Regions from separate parts of the Homo sapiens genome. Here region 1 is linked to region 2. Evidence: promoter capture Hi-C in 16 types of primary human blood cells and fetal thymus (Javierre and others, 2016). All regions are on one chromosome and are shown on one strand. Each heading gives the region's core, a stretch centred on a gene start or on the middle of the fragment in contact. The rest is flanking DNA. Distances are from core to core; before and after follow the strand shown. Region 1 holds the start of PRMT3 (protein arginine methyltransferase 3). Region 2 holds the start of RPL27A (ribosomal protein L27a).

What was found. Contacts are between HindIII fragments. The CHiCAGO score rates a contact against its expected background, and 5 or more counts as called.
Region 1: a fragment that was not itself captured here is called in contact with the fragment with the promoter of RPL27A in region 2 in 1 of 17 cell types (neutrophils); the score reaches 6.8 in neutrophils.

What each region holds. Positions count from the first base shown.
Region 1 is chr11:20,386,362-20,392,720 of GRCh38, forward strand. It overlaps PRMT3 (protein arginine methyltransferase 3), which reads left to right and starts at 1,355. Exons shown (of 16, transcript NM_005788.4): 1 at 1,355-1,413; 2 at 1,658-1,793; 3 at 3,383-3,465; 4 at 5,850-5,899. The coding sequence starts at 1,386. RefSeq lists enhancers at 1,063-1,232, 1,106-1,713, 1,714-2,320, 2,176-2,225 and a silencer at 1,066-1,625. The HindIII fragment of the contact is 1,671 bases long and covers 3,969-5,639 here.
Region 2 is chr11:8,679,029-8,684,041 of GRCh38, forward strand. RPL27A (ribosomal protein L27a) reads left to right here and starts at 3,764. Exons shown (of 5, transcript NM_000990.5): 1 at 3,764-3,788; 2 at 4,174-4,237; 3 at 4,978-5,013. The coding sequence starts at 3,786. TRIM66 (tripartite motif containing 66) reads right to left here and starts at 3,637. Exons shown (of 25, transcript NM_001388022.1): 1 at 3,573-3,637; 2 at 873-1,035; 3 at 592-786. RefSeq lists enhancers at 3,194-4,393, 3,257-3,326, 3,527-3,716, 4,043-4,685 and a silencer at 3,837-4,036. The HindIII fragment of the contact is 2,972 bases long and covers 1,186-4,157 here.

The DNA.
Region 1 (6,359 bases), core at 3,554-6,053, about 12 Mb after region 2:
CCAGCCTGGGCAACAAGAGCGAAACTCCGTCTCAAAAATCAAACAAAAAAAAGTTCTATGGTTTGAAGAGATATAAGGAAAGGAAGAAAGGGACGTGGCATGAGGCAGGCAGGGGAACATTTGTGTTCTTCCCCACACAGCAGCCAGATTGTTACTTTCTCAACACATCTGAGAGCATCACTCCCTGGCTTAAATAGTTATGTCTGAGCACTTTACATGTATTAACTCGTTTTATCCTTACTGTAGTTCTGAAGTTAGTCCAGGTTTTTTGTTTTTTGTTTTTTTTTTTTTAAGATGGAGTCTTGCTCTGTTGCCCAGGCTGGAGTACGGTGGCACAATCTCGGCTCACCACAAGCTCCGCCTCCCGGGCTCAAGCAATTCTCCTGCCTCAGCCTCCCAAGTAGCTGGGATTGCAGGCGCGTGCCACCACACCTGGTTAATTTTTGTATTTTTAGTAGGGACAGGGTTTCACCATGTTGGCCAGGCTGGTCTCCAACTCCTGACCTCAGGTGATCCGCCCGCCTCAGCCTCCCAAAGTGCTGGTACTATAGACGTGAGCCACCGTGCCCTGCCCAAGTGCAGTTATTATCCTTGTTTTGTATTTGATGAAACTGAGGCAGAGAGAGGTCGAGTAACTTGCCCAAGATCACAGTTACAAAGTGACGTGGGTAGGATTCAAACCCAGCAGGCTGCCTCTAGAGTTCACGTTCTCACTTAACCAAAGATTAAAATCCGTCTTGGGGGGTTTGACACCTATCTGTCCCTGCAGTAGACCCACCCTGGCCCATGCAGTTCGTTCCCTCTCGCCAGCTGCACCCCCTCCAGGACCTGGGAGCCCAGAAACCAGCCGAGCCTCCAGCGTTTGGCCTCCTCCGCCACCAGAGGGCGTCATGGGCCGATCGCCCCTCCGCTAACCGCTCATCCCAGGAAAAAGGGGCGCACAGAGGACAGGATGCCAACCCCAAAACCGCAGCGACGTCTCTCTGCCTTGGGGCTCACAGCAGCGGGCCGCGACCTCCCACTAACGCCTGCCGCAACCCAAGGAGGAGACAAAAGTCATCTTCCGGGCTGCAACATTAACCGTCATCAGCGCGCCTCTTCAGCGCGCACTGCGCCAACCCTGCGGCAGGAGGAGGCGGAGCCCCCGCTCTCGCCCCGCCCCCACCTCACGTGACCCGCACGGCGCCTCGAGGCCGGAAGCGATTGCGAGCCAGCGCGCGCGCTTCGGCGTTCCCGGCGGTCTGCGAAGTTTCCGGAGCCCGGGTCCCGCCGCGGGTTCGCGCTTGTGCTCGCGCTCGTTCCTGGAGTCGGCGGCCGCTGCGCGCGCTCGTTGCCCAACCCGGTCCCCGCCCCCAGACACGCCGGGCTCTCGGGGCACCACAGCCATGTGCTCGTTAGCGTCAGGCGCTACCGGTGGGTACCCTGGCCCCTCAGCACCCGGCTCGTCCAGCCCCAGGCCGCGCCGCTGTGGGGCCGGTGGAAGACCCTCCGGGACACGGGCCCGGGCAGGGTGGGGGGCTCGCAGGGATCATGAAGGAGGTGCTGAGTGAGGGCCGCGGGCGAACGGGGCGGAGGAGAGCCCATCGTCACCTGCTCCTCGAGCCCCCGGGCCGCACCGGTGTCCGAGGCCGATCTGATTGTTGTGTGTGTGTGTTAGGCGGCCGGGGCGCTGTGGAGAATGAGGAGGACCTGCCAGAACTGTCGGACAGCGGGGACGAGGCCGCCTGGGAGGATGAGGACGATGCAGATCTCCCCCACGGCAAGCAGCAGACCCCCTGCCTGTTCTGTAACAGGTTCGTCCGCCTCAGCGCCTGGCCTCTGCCCTAGGGTGCCCGGGCGCGTGGGGTCTGTGTGCCCAGGAACGCCTTCGGGCGGGAGGCAAGCCAGAGTGGCCTGTCTTTGAATTCTGGAACCACTGGTCTGGGGTGAGGGCTTGTGGAGAAGGAGGACCCTCGGTAGTAGAGAGGGGGAACCGTGAACTGGAAGGCCGGTTGTACTGCAAGCTTTTGACTGGTAGTGCATTGAATCTGTGGTTCCCAAATCTTGTCACTTGAGACGCTGAAAACAAAATGATACTGAACTCTGCACCTGAATCCTTCCAAGTCAGGGATGGGGTCTAAGAATATTCTGTTTTTATGAGGACAAGATCGGAAGTAACAGTGAAGTTACTAACGAGTTACTACTAACGAGTAACATATTTGGCAGCCACCCTGAACTAGATAATCCCTACGGAGCCTTCCGGCTTTACCATGCTAATTCTTTGACCAGTACAGAGCTTCTCAGGTGAAACATTTCTTTTTTATTTGAGCGGTTTCCATAGTCTAAGAAGGAAGTTCACCTTACTTAAGTAGGACTTTTCACTTAAGGAAAAAGACTGTAGTATCAATAATTTGCTCAAGGTCACAAAGCTGTGGTGTGCTTATTTCCAAACTCACATTCTTGCCACTTAAAATTCTGCCTGTTAGTCTTGGGAAGCTTTGGCTCCTGTCCTAGGCAAGTAGGCATGAAAGAGGCCCGGTTGGCATTGGCCGGTGTTACTTTAATACATTTTCCAGTGTTCCCTGTATCTGGGCATGGTGCTGAGTGGTGGTGCGTTAGTGTTCTCATCTGTAGCCCCATTGGGTAGATAGAATGCCTGTATATATTCTAGTTGTCATAAAATATTTATTGAGCACCAGTGGTACCGTGGCTGTGATAGCCTCCATAAATAGTCGACATAACCTATCTCGGTAAACATTTGTGGAAAACTAATGCTCCACATGTGTTAGGAATATAGATAAGGTATACAGCTTCTCTGCTGTGTATTCCTGTCTTTAAGTAGCCTTCAGATTTGCATGTCACATAATAAAGAGGATTGATCCTCACAGTGTCTGTGATGCAAGTACGTTGGGAATACTACAAGATCACTTTTGAAATAAGGCACTTGGGGAGTATGCCAGCTGTAAAATTACATTTTATGCTTTATTTCTAAAAGCAGTTTGAGCTGTGCCAGTTCAAAGCCTCTGAAAGCAGAGTTGACACTTAGAGGAGAAAAGAATCTCAAGTAGAGAAATTGTATGACTTGAGAGAAACAGACTCTATCAAAGGGAACTCTCTTAAAAGCCTTTTGATAAAATCAGTGATATTATTTGACAAATAAATTCACTTTGACATTTAAAGGATAATTGGTTTTAGGTATAAAATGGGACTCAGAAGTACTAATTCCCTTTAAAAGTGCTGGATTCCCTTCCTTTCAGATACAAGTGTGTTTGTTTTTTCTTAATTGGAAGTAAAACTAGAAACCAGCAGAGTTAAAAAAAAAAAAAAAGTGTATATGTAACATGAAATCAGTATTTAGACTTCTTAGGGGACTATTCCATGAAGCTATTGCTTGATTTTTCAGGTTATTCACATCTGCTGAAGAAACATTTTCACACTGTAAGTCTGAGCATCAGTTTAATATTGACAGCATGGTTCATAAACATGGTGAGTAGTTTTTAGAATAAAGGCAATTTAATTTGTGAAATTTGGGCAGGCATGGCAGCTCACACCTGTAATCCCAGCACTTTGGGAGGCTGAGGTGGGTGGATCACTTTAGGTCGGGAGTTCAAGACCAGCCTGGCCAACATGCTGAAACCCCACCTGTACTAAAATACAAAAGTTATCTGGGTGTGGTGACGCACACCTGTAATAGCAGCTGCTCAGAAGACTGAGGCAGGTGAATTGCTTAAACCTGGGAGGCAGAGGTGGCAGTGAGCTGAGATGGTATCACTGCACTCCAGCCTGGGCAACAGAGTGAGACTCTTCTCAAAAAAAAAAAAAATCTGTGAAATATAAGTTCAGATTTTATAGTTTTTCAGACCCTTTTCTGTACGAGTTTAATATGGCGAATCACACAGCAACATCTTGTGGAAATGGAGTTTTTTTGACAAGCGGTCCTTGAGAAAAGATGAATAAGTCACTCTTCTAGACAAGATTCACTGTATTTAAGCTTATATTAGCTTTTCAACTAAAAACAAAAACAGACTTGGCATGTGATTACATTTTTACATTTTATGTGATTACATATTAGATTTAGGGAGAGCAAGTGTAGATGTAGGACTTGAAAAAGGACGCAGGTCATTTGAAAAAAGACAATCAGCTCAAAGCATGACATGAACTTCACAGCCTACGAGACTGAGTTTTATACAAAGTTCGGTAGAGACTGGAAAAAGAGTGATGAAGTTAAGATTAATATGCAAAATACTCAGGTGATGTTTCTATTGAAACTTTTATTTAAACACACTTGCCTTACAATTAAGGCCTTCCACTTTAAATGGATGTAGAAGAGCTATACTACAATAAAATTAACTAAATAGGCCAGGTGCTGTGGCTCACGCCTGTGATTCCAACACTTTGGGAGGCCAAGGCAGGTGGATCACAAGGTCAAGAGATTGAGACCATCCTGGCTAACCCAGTGAAAACCTTTGGGAGGCCAAGGCGGATGGATCACAAGGTCAGGAGATCGAGACCATCCTGGCTAACCCAGTGAAAACCCAACTCTACTAAAAATACAAAAAATTAGTCGGGCATGGTGGCATGTGCCTGTAGTCCCAGCTACTTGGGAGGCTGAGGCAGGAGAATTACTTGAACCCGGGAGGCGGAGGTTGCAGTGAGCTAAGATCATGCCACTGCACTACAGCCTGGGTGACAGACTGAGACGCCGTCTCAAAAAAAAAAAAATAATAGGTTTTTTGGTCCCTATATTTGTTGACAACTAAGAAGGGACATTACTGAAGAATAGCAAATACTAACAGGTGTTTCAGTGTCAGATAAATACGTGATATCACATGTTTATAAATCATAAATTCAACTGCAAGTACTTTCGTAAGGCATAAATGACAGCCTCATTTTTTAATGTTTTTTGTTTTTGTTTTTTTTTTGAGACGGAGTCTCGCTCTTGTTGCCCAGGCTGGAGTGCAATGGCACGATCTCGGCTCACTGCAACCTCCGCCTCCCGGGTTCAAGTGATTCTCCTGCCTCAGCCTCCCAAGTAGCTGGGATTATAGGCATGCGCCACCACACTGGCTAATTTTGTATTTTAGGAGAGACAGGGTTTCTCCATGTTGGTCAGGCTGGTCTGGAACTCCCGACCTCAGGTGATCCGCCTGCCTTGGCCTCCCAAAGTGCTGGGGTTACAGGCATGAGCCACTGTGCCCAGCCTTAATGTTTTTAATGTTGCATTTCTAAAGTATTAGAATCATACTTAAGATAGAATTTTGTTTTGTTTTTTTTTTACTTACCGATATAGGGGGTTTGTATACTATTAAAGTTTTCTCATAACAAGAGTTTTATGACAAATAATTGGTTGGTTGGATGTATTACTGCTTTCCTTTGTTTTAAATGCTGCTTCATTTCTGGAAAGATACGAGAACCAGATAACAAGCCTTATTGGGCTTGCATCATTTAACTTCATGTAAAAGCTAGTATACACCATGTCCTGGCAAAATTATAATTTGATACACACCATAAAAATTAGGGATTTAATACTTTCAGCTCTGATATCAGTTGCCAAATACTTGGTAAAATGTGGATCTTAATTTTCCAGATTTGTATTGTTCTGACAAAGGAGGAGTAGAATTTTAGAAATCAGTTTTCCATCTTTTTAGAAATACTAGAAAAGCTTTAATTTGTCATTTATGGCTGCTTCTCAAGATATTCAGAAGTATCATTGTATTACTACTTCTAATTCTTAATAAAATTCAAAATATAAGTAGTAATTTAGAGGTCAGAATTATTTTATTGTTTAATCAGAGAAGGCTTTATAGAATAGGTCAGTTAAACAAAACTCATTATGTTAACATAGGTGAATTATCTTTTTCCCCCTTTAGGACTTGAATTTTATGGATACATTAAGCTAATAAATTTTATTAGACTTAAGGTAAGTTGACAGCTTAATTTATAATTTCGTTTAGAAATCAAAGAAATGCTACAGTGACTGTCAGTGTACTGATTATTTAAAAGAATATGAGGAACTGCATTAAATTTGGTACTCATCATATTGGGGGAATCACGGACATTAGGAGGTAGCACAGCAGAAAGCACCATGTAAATGTCTACCATAACTAACAAATATTGTTTTCACTGCATCTAAGAGATGAATCGGTGTATGTGAAAAAGTAATTCAGTGTCAAATAAAGGGAAATACTGATGGACAGGATCTGTAAAATCAGAAATAATTTCTAATGTGATTTTAAGTATTTTGGTTGCTCTTTTTTATTCTGTTTTTTTTCAGATACTTTGTTTTTTTTTTTTTTTGTCCTGTTTAAATGAATGTTTAATGACATGACAACGCTTTCCCCAAATCCAAACAGTAAAAAAAACTCTGCGTTGAAACTGCT
Region 2 (5,013 bases), core at 2,514-5,013:
AGCCATGCTGTACTTCAGAAGAGATGTCACAGAGAAGGACACCCCTCAGGAGTCATGGCCAAAGGTCATGTCCCATGTGCCTAGCTGGGAGGGACAGGTCCCCTAATGCCAAATATCTGGCTGCTACTCCACTTTGCAGACAGAAAACTCAGCTTTGTCTGCTCTCTCAGACCTCTGTCAACCTAGGAAAAGTGACACACACTGAACAAACACCACATGAGCTGTGTGTTTAAGTCATGTGGTTGCCTTTTGAAGGAGAGGGAGCTGGATAGAAAACTGGATTGAGCCAGACAACTACCCAGGGTACTCCCTCTACAACCAGATCAAGCCATTGATGAGAAGAATGTTAGGTGAACACAGAACCCAACGGGTAGTGCTGGGTCCACTCTGGGAGGCCTTCTGTTCAGCCGCGTGACCTGAGGGACAGAACGTAGCTCCTCTATAACCAAGGAACCTGGCAAACTATCCAAGAGGAGTGTCTTAGCACCCAGAACCCTACCTCAACCCCTTGCAGTGGTGGTCCTTATTGTAGGCCCCAGCTCTAATACCACTGATGGTTCCCTTTCATTCCCAAGGCCCTGCCCAGCTTACCTCCATTGACAGATCATCTTCCCAAGGTTAGGTTCCAGGTAACCCAGCTCATTTCTTGTGCACTTACTGGCCAGTTTTGATGTCAAATAGACGACGATGTCTTCTTTGATCTCCCCTCCTATTCTCAAGACCCCTCTTCCTGCTGGTCACATGCAGTATGTGATTAAGGTTGATGGAGGGATGAAGACCATAATGCTGTAAGGTCAGAGAGGGACTGGTCACTGAGGTAAAAGCAGGGGATCTGGAGAGAGAAGACTAAAGGCTAGGCCCAGGCTCTGTACCTGACCACCTATGCAGCGTCTGACAAGTCACCCAATTCTTCTGTGCTTCAGTTTTCACACACGTAAAATGAGGCTGGTAGTGCTGTACCTTCAGGCAGATGTATTTTGTAAATTGCCAAGTGCTCTGAAAATGTTGGTTGTTATCCTTGTGGACTGAAGTGTTCTGGGAAGAAGCAGAATATAAAGTTGGCCTTAAAGGTTGAGGAAGATTCAGGACATGTGGTCAGGAAGAGGATGGGCACTCCGGGATGGGAAACAGCATGAGCAAAGGCAAAAATGCAAATGGGATATACCAGGCACGGCTGCAGTAGAAAGCTTGTGTAAGGGAGAGGCTGGGGTAAGGCTGGAAAGGCAAGTGGGCTATATTCTGTTGGTCATAAGGAGCTACCGAACTTTTTGATCAAGTAAAAGAATGAAAGTCATGTTTTCGGAATACTAACGTGGTGGAGGTGTGAAGGATACAGAAATTGGAGGAGGGTTAGAATGCAGGCAGAGTGAACAAAGGAAGGTGTTGTAAACTCCAGTTAAGAGATATGATGGGGGCCTGAATGAAGGCAGGGCACTAAGGCTTAAACAGAGGAAGCACATTGGGGAGATACAGAAACAAAAGGATAGGGTGACAGTGTAGTAGAAGAAGAGAAGGCTTGGGGACAATTTTCATTATCTAGGTGGACAATGGTGCCACTCACCAAGACAGAGAATAAAGGAGAAGGCACCAGTGAGCAGTGCAGATTGAGTTCTTTGGATATGTTTACTTTGTCTGTAGAATGTCCAAGGAATACTAACCAGTAATTAAGTGACCATATGGGTGTGGAGCTCAGCAATAAGGATGTGAATTGAAGCCACCCAAGAAGACCATGTACTGTGAAAAGATAAGGACAAGGACAGAAGGCTGAGGAACATCAACATTCAAATGGTGGACAACGCTGGATGGAAGAACCTGAAAAGAAGACTGAAAAGTGACCAAAGAGTAGGAGGAAGGCAAGACTTTTTCTAGAAAAAGACGCCAACAGATTAAAGTACAACAGAAAGAACAAGTGATATGAAGAATAGGAAGAGTCCAATTTGGCAATTCGTTCATTAATGACATTAGTAAGAGCAATTTCACTGAAGTCACAGGCTGTGAGCTAGACCGCAGTGAACAATGGATGGGAAGGTGCAAATGGGCAGGATTTGTAGACTACTCTTTTGGGGAGCTTGGCTGTAAGGGCAAGGACATGGGAGAATTTTGGAATTTTTTTTTTTTTTTTTGAGACGGAGTCTCGTTCTGTCGCCCAGGCTGCAGTGCAGTGGCGCGATCTCGGTTCACTACAAGCTCCGCCTCCCGGGTTCACGCCATTCTCCTGCCTCAGCCTCCCGAGTAGCTGGGACTACAGGCGCCCACCACCACGCCCATCTAATTTTTTGTATTTTTAGTAGAGACGGGGTTTCACCGTGTTAGCCAGGATGGTCTCGATCTCCTGACCTCGTGATCCGCCCGCCTCGGCCTTCCAAAGTGCTGGGATTACAGAAGTAAGCCACCACGCCCGGCCAGAATTTTGGATATTTTAGCTAAAATATATTTTAGCTGAAGGGGGCAAGACAAAGAAAAATAAATAAATACACGCTCACACATACACACAGAGAATAACTGAGGGGATGGGATTTTAAAAATTTATTTCATTTTTCCCATGGGATCTATTAATAGACTAGCGAGGGGATGGGATCTTGAACACTGGTTGAAGGAACCGACTTAAGAGCGAAGACATGCTGCTATTAGCGAAGACAGGGAGGTGAGGGTAAGTTCATTTATTCACTCAACAATCACTAGTTGAGTGTGGATTAAAAAAAACAGTCCTTGACCACATAAGGAATTAGGTCTAGTAGGGAAGACAAACGTAGGTCAATAAATTACATAAGGGTTATACTAGATTGTGTGGTGGTACAGGTGGGGAAGCGAGCAACTGTCTGCATTGTGTCCAGGAAAGGGTCACAGGCGTGTTATGTAGATTCTGGAGAAAATTCAAAAATAGCATTTATTTTTACTTATTTACTTTTGTATGTGGAGACGAGGGTCTCACTATGTTGCCCAGGCTGGTGTTGAACTACTCGCCTCAAGAAATCCTCCCGCCTCGACCTCCCAAAGTGTTGGGACTACAGGTGTGAGCCACCGCGCCTGGCCTAAATGTGGCATTTAGAAAAAGTATTTACAACATCTGCATTAAAAGGACCATAAAGCAACCAGGCATCTAAGTCCCTGAAGCAATTTAAGTTGCTCAAACTTGAGAGGACAACCAAATGATAGCAAAAGGGCAAAAGAGAAAGGAAGCTGCAGTGCCCACTCAGAAGTGTGAGAGCGGGAGAAGGCATTTCGGGAGCCGCCCGAGCTTCAGGAAACCGAGCGAGACACCAGGTGGGCACACTGAGGATTAAAGAGGGCCTCGCGGTTCCGCACTGCGGCCGGGAGACAAACCAGTAGCCACTATCACCAGCCCCGGGCAGACCACTAAGAACTGTGGAGGTGCGCGGGGCGGCTCAGGGCTGGCGCATTTGGTGAGGAGCTCAGACAACGAGGCCCTTAGGGTCGGCTTAGGCGGTTCCCTGACCAAGGCGCCAGAAAAGGGCCTGGCTCAAGCAAGCACGGGCGGCGTGCAGTACAGCACACCTAGCCCCGATTCTTCAACAGTTCTCGCCCTCCGAGCCTAGCACAACGAGCCTCACCGAAACCGTACACCGCCACCAGGACACTCCGTGATGGGGGATCACCACCCTCAGAAAGAGGAAGCGACTAGCAGGCGCGCAATCCCGCGAGACCAGGAGGCCCCGCCCGAAGCCCGGCCTCTGTGACCGGAAGTGAGGCGTTTTGCCCCGCCCCCGTGGCCGATACCTCGCGAGACTTGGCGAAGGCCTTCCTTTTTCGTCTGGGCTGCCAACATGGTAGGTGTTTCGTTTCTTGCCTCCTCTTCCTTGCCGGCGGAGACCCCTAAGCTGTATTCCCATTGCCCCTAGTCATCCACTCCCTACCATGGTCGGGGCTTCCAGGCTGCGCATGGCCGCCTGCGGGGCAGGGTGGCCGGCGCGGGCCCGGGGCGGGGCTCCCGGAGCCGTGTGTTAGGCCCGCGGTTCGGATCTCTAGGACACGCGGGCCCCTGCGCTACCGTGGTGAGACCTCACGGCCCTGAGCGGATCGGTACCCTCAGCTTTCCCAAACGCTCCAGAAGTTAGGTCTTTGACCCACAGGCTTACAGGACCATCTCGGCTGGCGGGCATCGCCCCCTGCCCCTAATTCCTTAGGCCTTACCACCAAGCTTTTTCCACACAGCCATCCAGACTGAGGAAGACCCGGAAACTTAGGGGCCACGTGAGCCACGGCCACGGCCGCATAGGTAAGTGCCGGCTTCCCCTCGGGGTGGGCCTTGGGCTCTCTTCGGGTGCTTAGCTAGTCTGGAGATCGGTAGCCTATAAGTGGGTTAGAATAAGACCTTTTTGTGGTCAAGTTGCACAGCTGTTGATTTTTTTCTGACGATCCTCTAGTATTCCAGTTCTAAGGAATTTCACATCAGTGGGGTAATAGGAATTGAGCAGGCACGGTATTGGGTTAGTTGAAGACATGGAGTACTGTGGGAATGCTGTGATGTGGAACCTGAAAAGATGTTTCACCCGGAATCCTAAAGTAATCGCATTGCTGAAAACCGGCATCGGTAGGGTGGGAACAGCGTAAGCGGGACACAGAAGTCTGGGAAACACTCTGCTTTTGTGCGAGGAAGTATTGAGATGCATGAGAAGGCTGTGTGGTGCATGTAGCTTTTTTGTGTGTGTGTGAGACTGATCACTGTCGCCCAGGCTGGAGTGCAGTGGCGAAATCTCGGCTCACTGCAACCCCTGCCTGCCGGGCTCAAGCGATTCTCCTGCCTCAGCCTCCCGAGTAGCTGATATTACAGGTGTGCGCCACGACGCCCGGCTAATTCTTTTTCTATTTTTAGTAGAGTCGGGGGTTTCTCCGTGTTGGCCAGGCTGGTCTCGAACTCCTGACCTCAGGTGATCTACCCCCCCTCGTCCTCCTAAAATGCTGGGATTACAGGCATGAGCCATCACACCGGCCCCACGTAGCTTTGTATTCCTGCAGGCAAGCACCGGAAGCACCCCGGCGGCCGCGGTAATG